Linked DNA regions of Homo sapiens: all the other regions are linked to region 1. Evidence: promoter capture Hi-C in human tissues and cell types (Jung and others, 2019). All regions are on one chromosome and are shown on one strand. Each heading gives the region's core, a stretch centred on a gene start or on the middle of the fragment in contact. The rest is flanking DNA. Distances are from core to core; before and after follow the strand shown.

Evidence for each region. Contacts are between HindIII fragments. The study calls those that stand out against the background at their distance.
Region 2: a fragment that was not itself captured here is called in contact with the fragment with the promoter of TFDP3 in region 1 in 1 of the 25 tissues and cell types used here (stomach).
Region 3: a fragment that was not itself captured here is called in contact with the fragment with the promoter of TFDP3 in region 1 in 1 of the 25 tissues and cell types used here (stomach).

What each region holds. Positions count from the first base shown.
Region 1 is chrX:133,216,760-133,220,375 of GRCh38, reverse strand. It overlaps TFDP3 (transcription factor Dp family member 3), which reads left to right and starts at 2,022. Exons shown (of 1, transcript NM_016521.3): 1 at 2,022-3,616. The coding sequence starts at 2,117. The coding sequence ends at 3,334. The HindIII fragment of the contact is 22,207 bases long and covers 1-3,616 here.
Region 2 is chrX:133,179,643-133,183,682 of GRCh38, reverse strand. No RefSeq gene overlaps it. Among named protein-coding and RNA genes, the nearest start is that of TFDP3, 37 kb to the left of the region's middle. The HindIII fragment of the contact is 6,638 bases long and covers 1-4,040 here.
Region 3 is chrX:133,161,201-133,164,750 of GRCh38, reverse strand. No RefSeq gene overlaps it. Among named protein-coding and RNA genes, the nearest start is that of TFDP3, 55 kb to the left of the region's middle. The HindIII fragment of the contact is 5,152 bases long and covers 1-3,550 here.

The DNA.
Region 1 (3,616 bases), core at 773-3,272:
CAGGCTCTTCTAAGCCCTCTTTTTGACCTCATCCTTGCTAAGTCTAGTTTTAGCAGGAGTTTAGCTTAAGTCACTTTAGTGAGAATCCCCTGCTCTTGATATCCAATCACCTTCAATATCTGATCACACTCTTCTTCCCCACCCTTGATATCTGATCACCCCAGCCTACCTTTAGCAAGAATCTTGTTAAGTTGGTTTAACAAGAATTCATCTACCCTTGATGTATCTTCTTAGTAATTTTTCATCCACTGACCACTTTGCTCTGCTCCTTGGCTATAAATCCTCTTGCATTTACTGCATTTAGAATTGAGCCCAGACCAGGTGCAGTGGCTCACAGCCGGGCGTGGTGGCGGGAGCCTGTAATCCCAGCTATTCAGGAGGCTGAGGCAGGAGAATCACTTGAACCCAGGAGGCGGAGATTGCGGAGGTTGCAGTGAGCCTAGATCGTGCCACTGCACTCTAACCTGGGTGACAGAGTGAGACTCTGCCTTAAAAAAGAATTGAGCCCAGTTCTATCCTGAGGTCTTTTTGCCCCATTGCCATAGTTCCTGAATAATATCTGTTTTACCTCTTTTATTACTGTCCAGCTCTGGTTCTGTTAGGCAAATGCTATAGACTGAATTTTGTCCCCCTACCCAATAAAATTCATATGTTGAACTCCTAACCCCCAATTTCACTACTCTTTCACTACTGTCCAGCTCTGGTTCTGTTTAGCAAATGCTATAGACTGAATTTTGTCCCCCTACCCACTAAAACTCATATGTTGATGCCCTAACCCCCAATTTGACTGTATCTGGAGATAGGGTCTTTAGGAGGTAATTAAGGTTAAATGAGGTCATAAGGGTGGGTCCCAAATAGGATAGGATGTGTCCTTGTCAAAAGAGATCTCTCCAAGCCCTGCTGCCATGTGAGGACACAGTGAGAAGGCAGACATCTGAAAGCCAGGAAGTGAGCCCTCACCAGAAACCAACCCTGCTGGAAACTTGATCTTGGACTTCTAGCCTCCAGAACTGTGAGAAAATAAATGTCTATTGTTTCAGCCACCCAGTCTATGGTGTTTTGTTACGGCAGCCCGAGGTGAGTGAGACAGCACCTCTGTGTATCTGAGGCTGAGGTGTATGCTTGTGTGCAATCACATGCATTATTTCCAGAGTCGAGGTGCTAGAGGAAGTTGGTGTGGACTAGAGAAGCAGGCCTGAAGACACAGAGCCTGTGTGGCATGGTTATTAGGACTTTTGGTGAGTAAGGCAGAGTTGAGACCAACGGTGGGAGAAAGAGACTGCCACAGGCCTCTGCTTCTGCTGGGCTTTGTCTTGTTCTCTCTTTAGATTTCTTTCTCATTGGCAATGTGTGTAGCTTCCAAAGTGAGGTGTAGGCTGTGGACTTAGTCTATTGATTGTACCACAGCCCAACAAATAAATGATACTGTATATTGTTAACTCCTTTTTCCCATCTCTATCTACTCAGGAAGGCTTAGTGTAGCTGTTTGGGTAGAGAGACAAAAACTGGATTCTTCCACAATAAGCTTCTTGACCAGCAGGTGAAGAAATAATCCTTGCAAGAGCCCAGATCCAGCTTCTTGTGAGACAATGGCTGAGAAGAAATGATAGACGGGCCTGCAGAGGCCTACACGTCTGATTTTCATCAGTCCCTTTAGGATGTGCTATGGTTTAAATGTGTCCTCCAAAAGTTCATGTGTTGGAAACTTAATTACCATTGTAACAGTATTAAGAGGTAGGGCCAGAGGAGGAAAGGCTGAAGGCGTGAAAAGGCACGCAGGCGCACTGCACGGACCGCCCCCCTGCTGCTGCGCACCTCACGTGGCGCATGTTACGCCAGGTACCACACGCCACGTACTGCACACCACGTACCACACGCCACGTACCACACACCACGTACCACACGCCACACACATTATGCCACGCACGTTACGCCACGCACGTTACGCCACGCACGTTACGCCACGCACGTTACGCCACGCACGTTACGCCACGCACGTTACGCCACGCACGTTACGCCACGCACCTCACGGCAGCCCTACACTCGGCCTGGAAGAATTGTTTTTCTTCTCTGGAAAGGTGAACATTTATAGCATTTATTTCCCAAATCTGTTAACATGGCAAAATATGTCAGTCTCACTGAAGCTAACGAAGAACTCAAGGTCTTAATGGACGAGAACCAGACCAGCCGCCCCGTGGCCGTTCACACCTCCACCGTGAACCCGCTCGGGAAGCAGCTCTTGCCGAAAACCTTTGGACAGTCCAGTGTCAACATTGACCAGCAAGTGGTAATTGGTATGCCTCAGAGACCAGCAGCATCAAACATCCCTGTGGTAGGAAGCCCAAACCCACCCAGCACTCACTTTGCCTCTCAGAACCAGCATTCCTACTCCTCACCTCCTTGGGCCGGGCAGCACAACAGGAAAGGAGAGAAGAATGGCATGGGCCTGTGCCGTCTTTCCATGAAGGTCTGGGAGACGGTGCAGAGGAAAGGGACCACTTCCTGCCAGGAAGTGGTGGGCGAGCTGGTCGCCAAGTTCAGAGCTGCCAGCAACCACGCCTCACCAAACGAGTCAGCTTATGACGTGAAAAACATAAAACGGCGCACCTACGATGCCTTAAACGTGCTGATGGCCATGAATATCATCTCCAGGGAGAAAAAGAAGATCAAGTGGATTGGTCTGACCACCAACTCGGCTCAGAACTGTCAGAACTTACGGGTGGAAAGACAGAAGAGACTTGAAAGAATAAAGCAGAAACAGTCTGAACTTCAACAACTTATTCTACAGCAAATTGCTTTCAAGAACCTGGTGCTGAGAAACCAGTATGTGGAGGAGCAGGTCAGCCAGCGGCCGCTGCCCAACTCAGTCATCCACGTGCCCTTCATCATCATCAGCAGTAGCAAGAAGACCGTCATCAACTGCAGCATCTCCGACGACAAATCAGAATATCTGTTTAAGTTTAACAGCTCCTTTGAAATCCACGATGACACAGAAGTGCTGATGTGGATGGGCATGACTTTTGGGCTAGAGTCCGGGAGCTGCTCTGCCGAAGACCTTAAAATGGCCAGAAATTTGGTCCCAAAGGCTCTGGAGCCGTACGTGACAGAAATGGCTCAGGGAACTTTTGGAGGTGTGTTCACGACGGCAGGTTCCAGGTCTAATGGCACGTGGCTTTCTGCCAGTGACCTGACCAACATTGCGATTGGGATGCTGGCCACAAGCTCCGGTGGATCTCAGTACAGTGGCTCCAGGGTGGAGACCCCAGCAGTCGAGGAGGAAGAGGAGGAGGACAACAACGATGACGACCTCAGTGAGAATGACGAGGATGACTGACGTCCTCTCGCCTTAAGATTCAGCTTCAGGAAAACATTTAGGGAAAAGAAACTTTTTTTTTTTTTTTAATGTGAGGTTTTCTGTTTCTTTTTTGCCTACTCCCAAGAAGATATTGGTAAGCTATAGAATTTAGATATGCACCTCTGATAAGCAAGGATTGTTTCCCGTATGATTAAGACGTGCTGTTGATGTGTGTTTTGATACCAGTGTGCTGACACAGAATCTTTATTTACTTTTTAGGATTTTGTGTTTTCATTTTCTATTTTTCTTTAAATGCAGAGT
Region 2 (4,040 bases), core at 498-2,997, 36 kb after region 1:
GGGTGGAGTCCAGGATCTCAGGATCATCACTCTCCACTGTCCTGCAGCATCTTTCTAAGCCCAGATGTTTTTAAAATTTTTTTTTGAGAAAGGGTCTCACTCACTGTAACCTCAAAATCCTGGGCTCAAGTAATCCTCCTGCGCTCAGCCTCCCAAGTGGCTAGACCTACAGGTACATACCACCACACCTGGCTAATTTTAAAAAAAATTGTTTAAGAGACAGGGTTTCACTATGTTGCCTAGGCTGGTCTTGAACTCCTGGCCTCAAGTGATCCTCCTGCCTCAGCCTCCCAAAGTGCTGGGATTACAAGCATGAGCCACTACACCTGGCCCAAATTCCAGGTTTTCAATCTCGTAGCTAGACCAGGGCTTAGCAAACTGTGGCCCATGTATCAAATCTGGCTCACCACCTCTGTTTGTATACCTGTTTTAGTAGCTAACATGGTTTTTCCACTTTTAAATGTTTGAAAAGAGGACTATTTTGTTAAACATGACAGTTATGTAAAATTAAAATGTCAGTGGCCATAAAATTTTATCAGAACACAGCCACAGTTATTCATTTACATATTGTCTATGACTACTCTTGTACTCCAACAGTAGAGTTGATTAATTGTGAAGGGACCTGTATGTCCCACAAACCTAAACATTGACTAGCTGGCTTTTTACAGAAAAACTTTGCCAGCCCCTAAGCTAGATTGTCAGTCGTAGTGTTACAGACTTGGGAAGAATTTCATGAGGACCCAAAGTCCTAGCTGCCTCTGGCCTAGCAGAATAAGCCCAGAGGGGATCTAGCAACCCCCTACCCCTACCCAGCACAGATTCCAAACCTCAAAACAAGTTAGAAGGCAGAAAGCAGGGCCAGGCATGGTGGCTCATGCCTGTAACCCCTGCATTTTGGAGGCCGAGGCAGGTGGATCACTTGCGGTCAGGAGTTCGAGACCAGCCTGGGCAACATAGTGAAACCCCGTCTCTACTAAAAATACAAAAGTTAGCTGGGTGTGGTGGCAGGTGCATGTAATCCCAGCTACTCTGGAGGCTGAGGCAGGAGATTTGCTTGATCCCGGGAGGCAGAGGTTGCAGTGAGCTGAGATTGCACCATTGCACTCCAGCCTGGGTGACAGAGCAAGACTCTGTCTCAAAAAAAAAAAAAAGGCGGAAAGCACTAAAATGATTCATATTCCCAGGGTGGCCAGTTGTTTTGCAATGTTCTGGTTTGAGGCTCAGAACAGGGGAAGAACCTCTGACCTGTGGAGCCCACCTCTGCCTTTGCTCCTAGGGACAGAAGAACTTGAGAGGTCCATAGTGTTCTACATGTAAACTTATGAACACAAGTGAGACAGCCTCAAAGAACAGATCGGAGTTATTCTGACAGCTTTCATGGCCAAAGGACTTCCAGATGGAGTTTGTCAATTTGCTGATATTTTTCACCTTCTAAAGAACACGTCTAAACCCCAAGTCATCCCTTCACCTGTGTGCAGGTATAAAACCCTCATCCTTTCATGAAAAAAATAATTTTATTTCAGAACTTAATGTTGAGATTTAGAAAAAAGGCAGAAAAACTACTTCTAAGAGCCAAAAAACGCAATGTATTTCAAAAGGTGGTGACAACTTCCTCTGAAGTCCAGAGTTCAGGGAAACAGGAGGTGATGGTAACTCGCACACCCAGCACCTGCTCATCACACGACTCCCTTTCTGTCTCCTCCTTTCCTTGCTGTCTGTCTTGGCTGTTCTCTCTGGTTCTCCTTCCAGATTGATTTTATCCCCTCTGCTGTCTCCTACCCCATGTGTCCGTAATATGAAATGTAAGAAAGCTTTTTATCACTTGTAACTAGAATTTATGGTTTCAACTCTTAATTTTAAAAGCAGTTATGTGAAATCATTTCTGTTTCTCAAACAAAATTGCTTTTTACACTTTGGTCTGCTATGGTAACAGTACTAACAGCTACCATTAATTGAGCACTTACTAAGTGCTGGACACTCTATTAGGCACTTAGAATGTTATAAGACACTTAATACTCACAAGTGTCCTATGCACTATCACATCTCTCTCATTTCAAAGGTGAGGAAATGGAGGCACAGACACTAAATGTATTGTCCAAAGTCCTCTGGTTTATAACTAGCAAAGAGGTCAAAACTCAGGCAGTTTTGTTCCTGGGCCCACATCCTCAACCACAAAACTTAACTAATGGCCTTCTGTTGTTAAATGTCCCTTAGCTTAGAGAAGGCACAAAAGCTCCCCTATTTATCATTTCAGGTTCTCCTGGAGAATTTTATTCTTTGGGTGTGTGGCTCTCCAATGGATATAACAGCCTACTTTTATTTTCCCAGAAGTATTAATAGAGATGGAGAGGAAGGCCTGGAATCCTCACACTTCCTGTTCACTCTAACTCAAAGATGGTTGATTTTCTCCTGTTTCTGCCTCTCCATGGAACACATTCACTGCAAACAAAACCCTCTCCTTTCCTTACCTTTTCAATTTCACAGGGCATGAAAGAGGTGGGGTTCATCATTCTCTTCTGCCATATCCAGGCTATTATTCCATGGCCATTGCTCACCAACCCCCTTGATTTTGAAGCCTGATAATGAAAATGACCAAAGGGAATACTTGGAGGGGATAACCATTAGTCCAGATTCATGAATTTCTTACAGTGGAAACATCAGTATTGTGTGGTCTGGGGGCTATAGGCTCTGGGCCCCTGAAAGATTCTCAAAAAATCACTGAAATGGGGTGGATTGGTTAATAGGAGAAAAAGTATACAAATTTATTTAACATGCATATATGGAAGCCCTCAGGATGAAGACCCAACTTCTCAATGAGTCACAGAAACTTATATACCATTTTGAGGTTACAGAAAGAGTTGGGGCTTCGATTCTGGTAAAAACAAGTTATAGGAGAGAGAGAAGAGGCTTGGCTAGCAAAGGTAGCCTTGTTATGTAGATGAAGCCTCTCTTGAGAGCATAAATGGTAAATATTTCTGTATTAGTCTGTTCTCGCACTGCTATAAAGAAATACCTGAGACGGGGTAATTTACAAAGGAAAGAGATTTAGTTGGCTCACCGTTCTATAGGCTGTTCAGGAGGCATAGCAGCTTCTGCTTCTGGGGAGGCCTCAGGGAACTTCCAATCATGGTGGAGGGCAAAGGGTGAGTGAAGTATCTCCCAGGGCAAGAGCAGAAGCAAGAGAGCAAGGCTGGGGGGGTGCTACATACTTTTAAACCACCACGTCTCAGGATAACTTGCTCATTCGCTATCATGAAGGCAGTACCGGGTGATAGTGCTAAACCATTCATGAGAAATCCGCCCCCAAGATCCATTCACCTCCCACCAGGTCTCACCCCCAACACTGGGGAATACTATTTGACATGAGATTGGTGGGGACACAGATCCAAACCGTATCCGTTTCTTTTCAGACTTTTAAAGGGGTCAGACCTTCAATTTCTCCCTGGATCTGGGGCAAGGCATAGAGAGGGGAGGGGGCATGGCTGTATTAATGGGGATTCTCTACAGATACAAATTTTCCCCTCTTAAGAAGCTGTGTTAAGTGGGGAAAGAAGGGGCCTTACAAAGCTTTGTAAGGCCACTTTTGTCAAGATGGCTAAGCAGCAGCCCTTTCAAAATATGTCAAAGAAATATATTTTGGGGGTAAAATAATTTAATTTCTTTCAGTGGGAAATATTCTCTATCTGGGGTACCTTCTTGGAAATTAGAGATGTTAGTGTTTATTGAGCATTTAGTATATGCCAGACTTTGTTCTAAAGACTTTATAGATATAATCTCATTAAGCCTTAAGATCCCTACAACTTTGTGAGGGAGACTGACAGATGAAAGAAACAAAGCCCAAAGAGGTCAAGAGACTTGAACAAAATGTCATACAGCTGGTGAAATATTGGAGCCTGGTTGAAACCCAAATCTGTCTGACTTTAAAGCTTATTCTTAGAAACCAATTGCTGAATTGATGACTGTGTTGTAAATGGGGGAGTAAGCCCCCTTGTGGGGTCTTTAAGGATCACTCCAACAGGGCCATAGAAATTGCACTCAGA
Region 3 (3,550 bases), core at 892-3,391, 56 kb after region 1:
CTCTAATAAAAACTTGCTGGTTTTCGTGGCTTGTGGGGCATCACGGATCCTACCAACGTGTGATGTCTCCCCCGGATGCCCAGCTTTAAAATTTCTCTCTTTTGTACTCTGTCCCTTTATTTCTCAAGCCAGCCGACGCTTAGGAAAAATAGAAAAGAACCTACGTGATTATCGGGGCAGGTCCCCCGATGACTCTGATGATAGTTTCTTTTGCTGTGCAGAAGCTCTTTAGTTTAATTAGATCCCATGTGTCAATTTTGGCTTTTATTGCCATTGCTTTTGTTGTTTTAGATATGAAGTCTTTGTATATGCCTATGTCCTGAATGGTATTGCCCAGGTTTTCTTCTAGGATTTTTATGGTCCTAGGTCTTACGTTTAAGAATATGAGCTATCTTGAGTTGATTTTTGTATAAGGTATAAGGAAGGGGTCCAGTTTCAGTTTTCTGCATATGGCTAGCCAGTTTTCCCAACACCATTTATTATATAGGGAATCTTTTCCCCATTGCTTGTTTGTGTCAGGTTTCTCAAAGATCAGATGGTTGTAGATGTGTGATTTTATTTCCAAGGCCTCTGTTCTGTTCCATTGGTCTATATATCTGTTTTGGTACCAGTACCATGCTGTTTTGGTTACTGTAGCCTTGTAGTATAGTTTGAAGTCAGGTAGCATGATGCCTCCAGCTTTGTTCTTCTTGCCCAGGATTTTCTTGGCTATGCGGGCTCTTTTTTGGTTCCATATGAAGTTTAAGTAGTTTTTTCCAATTCTGTGAAGAAAGTCAATGGTAGCTTGATGAGGATAACATTGAATCTACAAATTACTTTGGGCAGTATGGCCATTTTCACGATATTGATTCTTCCTATCCATGAGCATGGAATGTTTTTCCATTTGTTTGTGTCCTCTCTGATTTCCTTGAGCAGTGGTTTGTAGTTCTCCTTGAAGAGGTCCTTCATGTCCCTTGTAAATTGTATTCCTAGGTATTTTATTCTCTTTGTAGCAATTGTGAATGGGAGTTCACTCATGATTTGGCTCTCTGTTTTTCTGTTATTGGTGTGTAAGAATGCTTGTAATTTTTCCACATTGATTTTGTATCCCGAGACTTTGCTGAAGTTGCTTATCAGCTTAAGGAGATTTTGGGATGAGATGATGGGGTTTTTTAAACATACAATCATGCCCTCTGCAAACAGAGACAATTTGACTTCCTCTCTTCCTATTTGAATACCTTTATTTCTTTCTATTCCCTGACTGCCCTGGTCAGAACTTCCAACACTATGTTGAATAGGAGTGGTGAGAGAGGGCATCCTTGTCTTGTGCCAGTTTTCAAAGGGAATGCTTCCAGTTTTTGCCCATTCAGTATGATATTGGCTATGGGTTTGTCATAAATAGCTCTTATTATTTTGAGATATGTTCCATCGATACCTACTTTATTGAGAGTTTTTATCATGAAGGGGTGTTGAATTTTGTCTAAGGCCTTTTCTGCATCTATTGAGATAATCATGTGGTTTTGTCATTGGTTCTGTTTATGTGATGGATTACGTTTATTGATTTGCATATGTTGAACAAGCCTTGCATCCCAGGGATGAAGCCGACTTGATTGTGTTGGATAAGCTTTTTGATGTGCTACTGAATTTGGCTTGCCAGTATTTTATTGAGGATATTCACATCGATGTTCTTCAAGGATATTAGCCTGAAATTTTCTTTTTTTGTTGTGTCTCTGCCAGGTTTTGGAATCAGGATGATGTTGGCCTCATAAAATGAGTTAGGGAGGATTCCCTCTTTTTCTATTGATTGGAATAGTTTCAGAAGGAATGATATCAGCTCTTCTTTGTACCCCTGGTAGAATTCAGCTGTGAATCCGTCTGGTCCTGAACTTTTTTTGGTTGGTAGGCTATTAATTACTGCCTCAATTTCAGAACTTGTTATTGGTTTATTCAGGGATTCGATTTCTTCCTGGTTTACACTTGGAAGGGTGTATGTTTCCAGGAATTTATCCATTTCTTGTAGATTTTCTAGCTTATTTGTGTAGAAGTGTTTATAGTATTCTCTGATGGTAGTTTGTATTTCTGTGTGATCAGTGGTGATATCCCCTATATCATTTTTTATTGCATCTATTTGATTCTTCTCTCTTTTCTTCTTTATTAGTCTGGCTAGTGGTCTATCTCTTTTGTTGATCTTTTCAAAAAACCAGCTCCTGGATTCATTAATTTTTTTTGAAGGGTTTTTCGTGTCTCTATCTCTTTCAGTTCTGCTCTGATCTTAGTTATTTCTTGTCTTCTGCTAGATTTTGAATTTGTTTGCTCTTGCTTCTCTAGTTCTTTTAATTGTGATGTTAGGGTGTCCATTTTAGATGTTTCCTGCTTTCTCTTGTGGGCATTTAGTGCCGTAAATTTCCCTCTACACACTGCTTTAAATGTGTCCCACAGATTCTGGTTCGTTGTGTCTTCGTTCTCATTGGTTTCAAAGAACATCTTTATTTCTGCCTTAATTTTGTTATTTACCCAGTAGTCATTCAGGAGCAGGTTGTTCAGTTTCCATGTAGTTGTGCTGTTTTGAGTGAGTTTCTTAATCCTGAGTTCTAATTTGATTGCACTGTGATCTGAGAGACTGTTTGTTATGATTTCTGTTCTTTTGCATTTGCTGAGGAGTATTTTACTTCCAATTATGTGGTCAGTTTTAGAATAAGTGCGATGAGGTGCTGAGAAGAATGTATATTCTGTTGATTTGAGGTGGAGAGTTCTGTGGATGTCTATTAGGTCCATTTGGTCCAGAGCTGAGTTCAAGTCCAGAATATCCTTGTTAATTTTCTGTCTTGTTGATCTGTCTAATATTGACAGTGGGGTGTTAAAGTCTCCCACTGTAATTGTGTGGGAGCGTAAGTCTCTTTGTAGGTCTCTAAGAACTTGCTTTTTGAATATGGGTGCTCCTGTATTGGGTGCATATACATTTATGATAGTTAGCTCTTCTTGCTGCATTGATCCCTTTAGCATTATGTAATTCTGTTCTTTGTCTTTTTGATCTTTTTTGGTTTAAAGTCTCTTTTATCAGAAATTAGGATTGCAACTAATGTTTTTGTTTTTTGTTTTGTTTTGTTTTGTTTTGCTTTCCATTTGCTTGGTAAATATTCCTCCATCCCTTTATTTTGAGTCTATGTGTGTCTTTGCATGTGAGATGGGTCTCCTGAATACAGCACACCGATAGGTCTTGACTCTTTATCCAGTTTGCCAGTCAGTGTCTTTTAATTGGGGCATTTAGCCCATTTACATTTAAGGTTAATATTATTATGTGTGAATTTGATACTGTCGTTATGATGCTAGCTGGTTGTTTTGCCAGTTAGTTGATGCAGTTTCTTCATAGTGTCAATGTTCTTTACAATTTGGTATGTTTTTGCAGTGTCTGGTACTGGTTTTTTCTTTCCATGTTTAGTGCTTCCTTTAGGAGCTCTTGTAAGGCAGGCCTGGTGGTAACAAAATCTCTCATGTGCTTGTCTGTAAAGGATTTTATTTCTCCTTCGCTTGTGAAGCTTAGTTTGGCTGGATATGAAATTCTGGGTTGAAA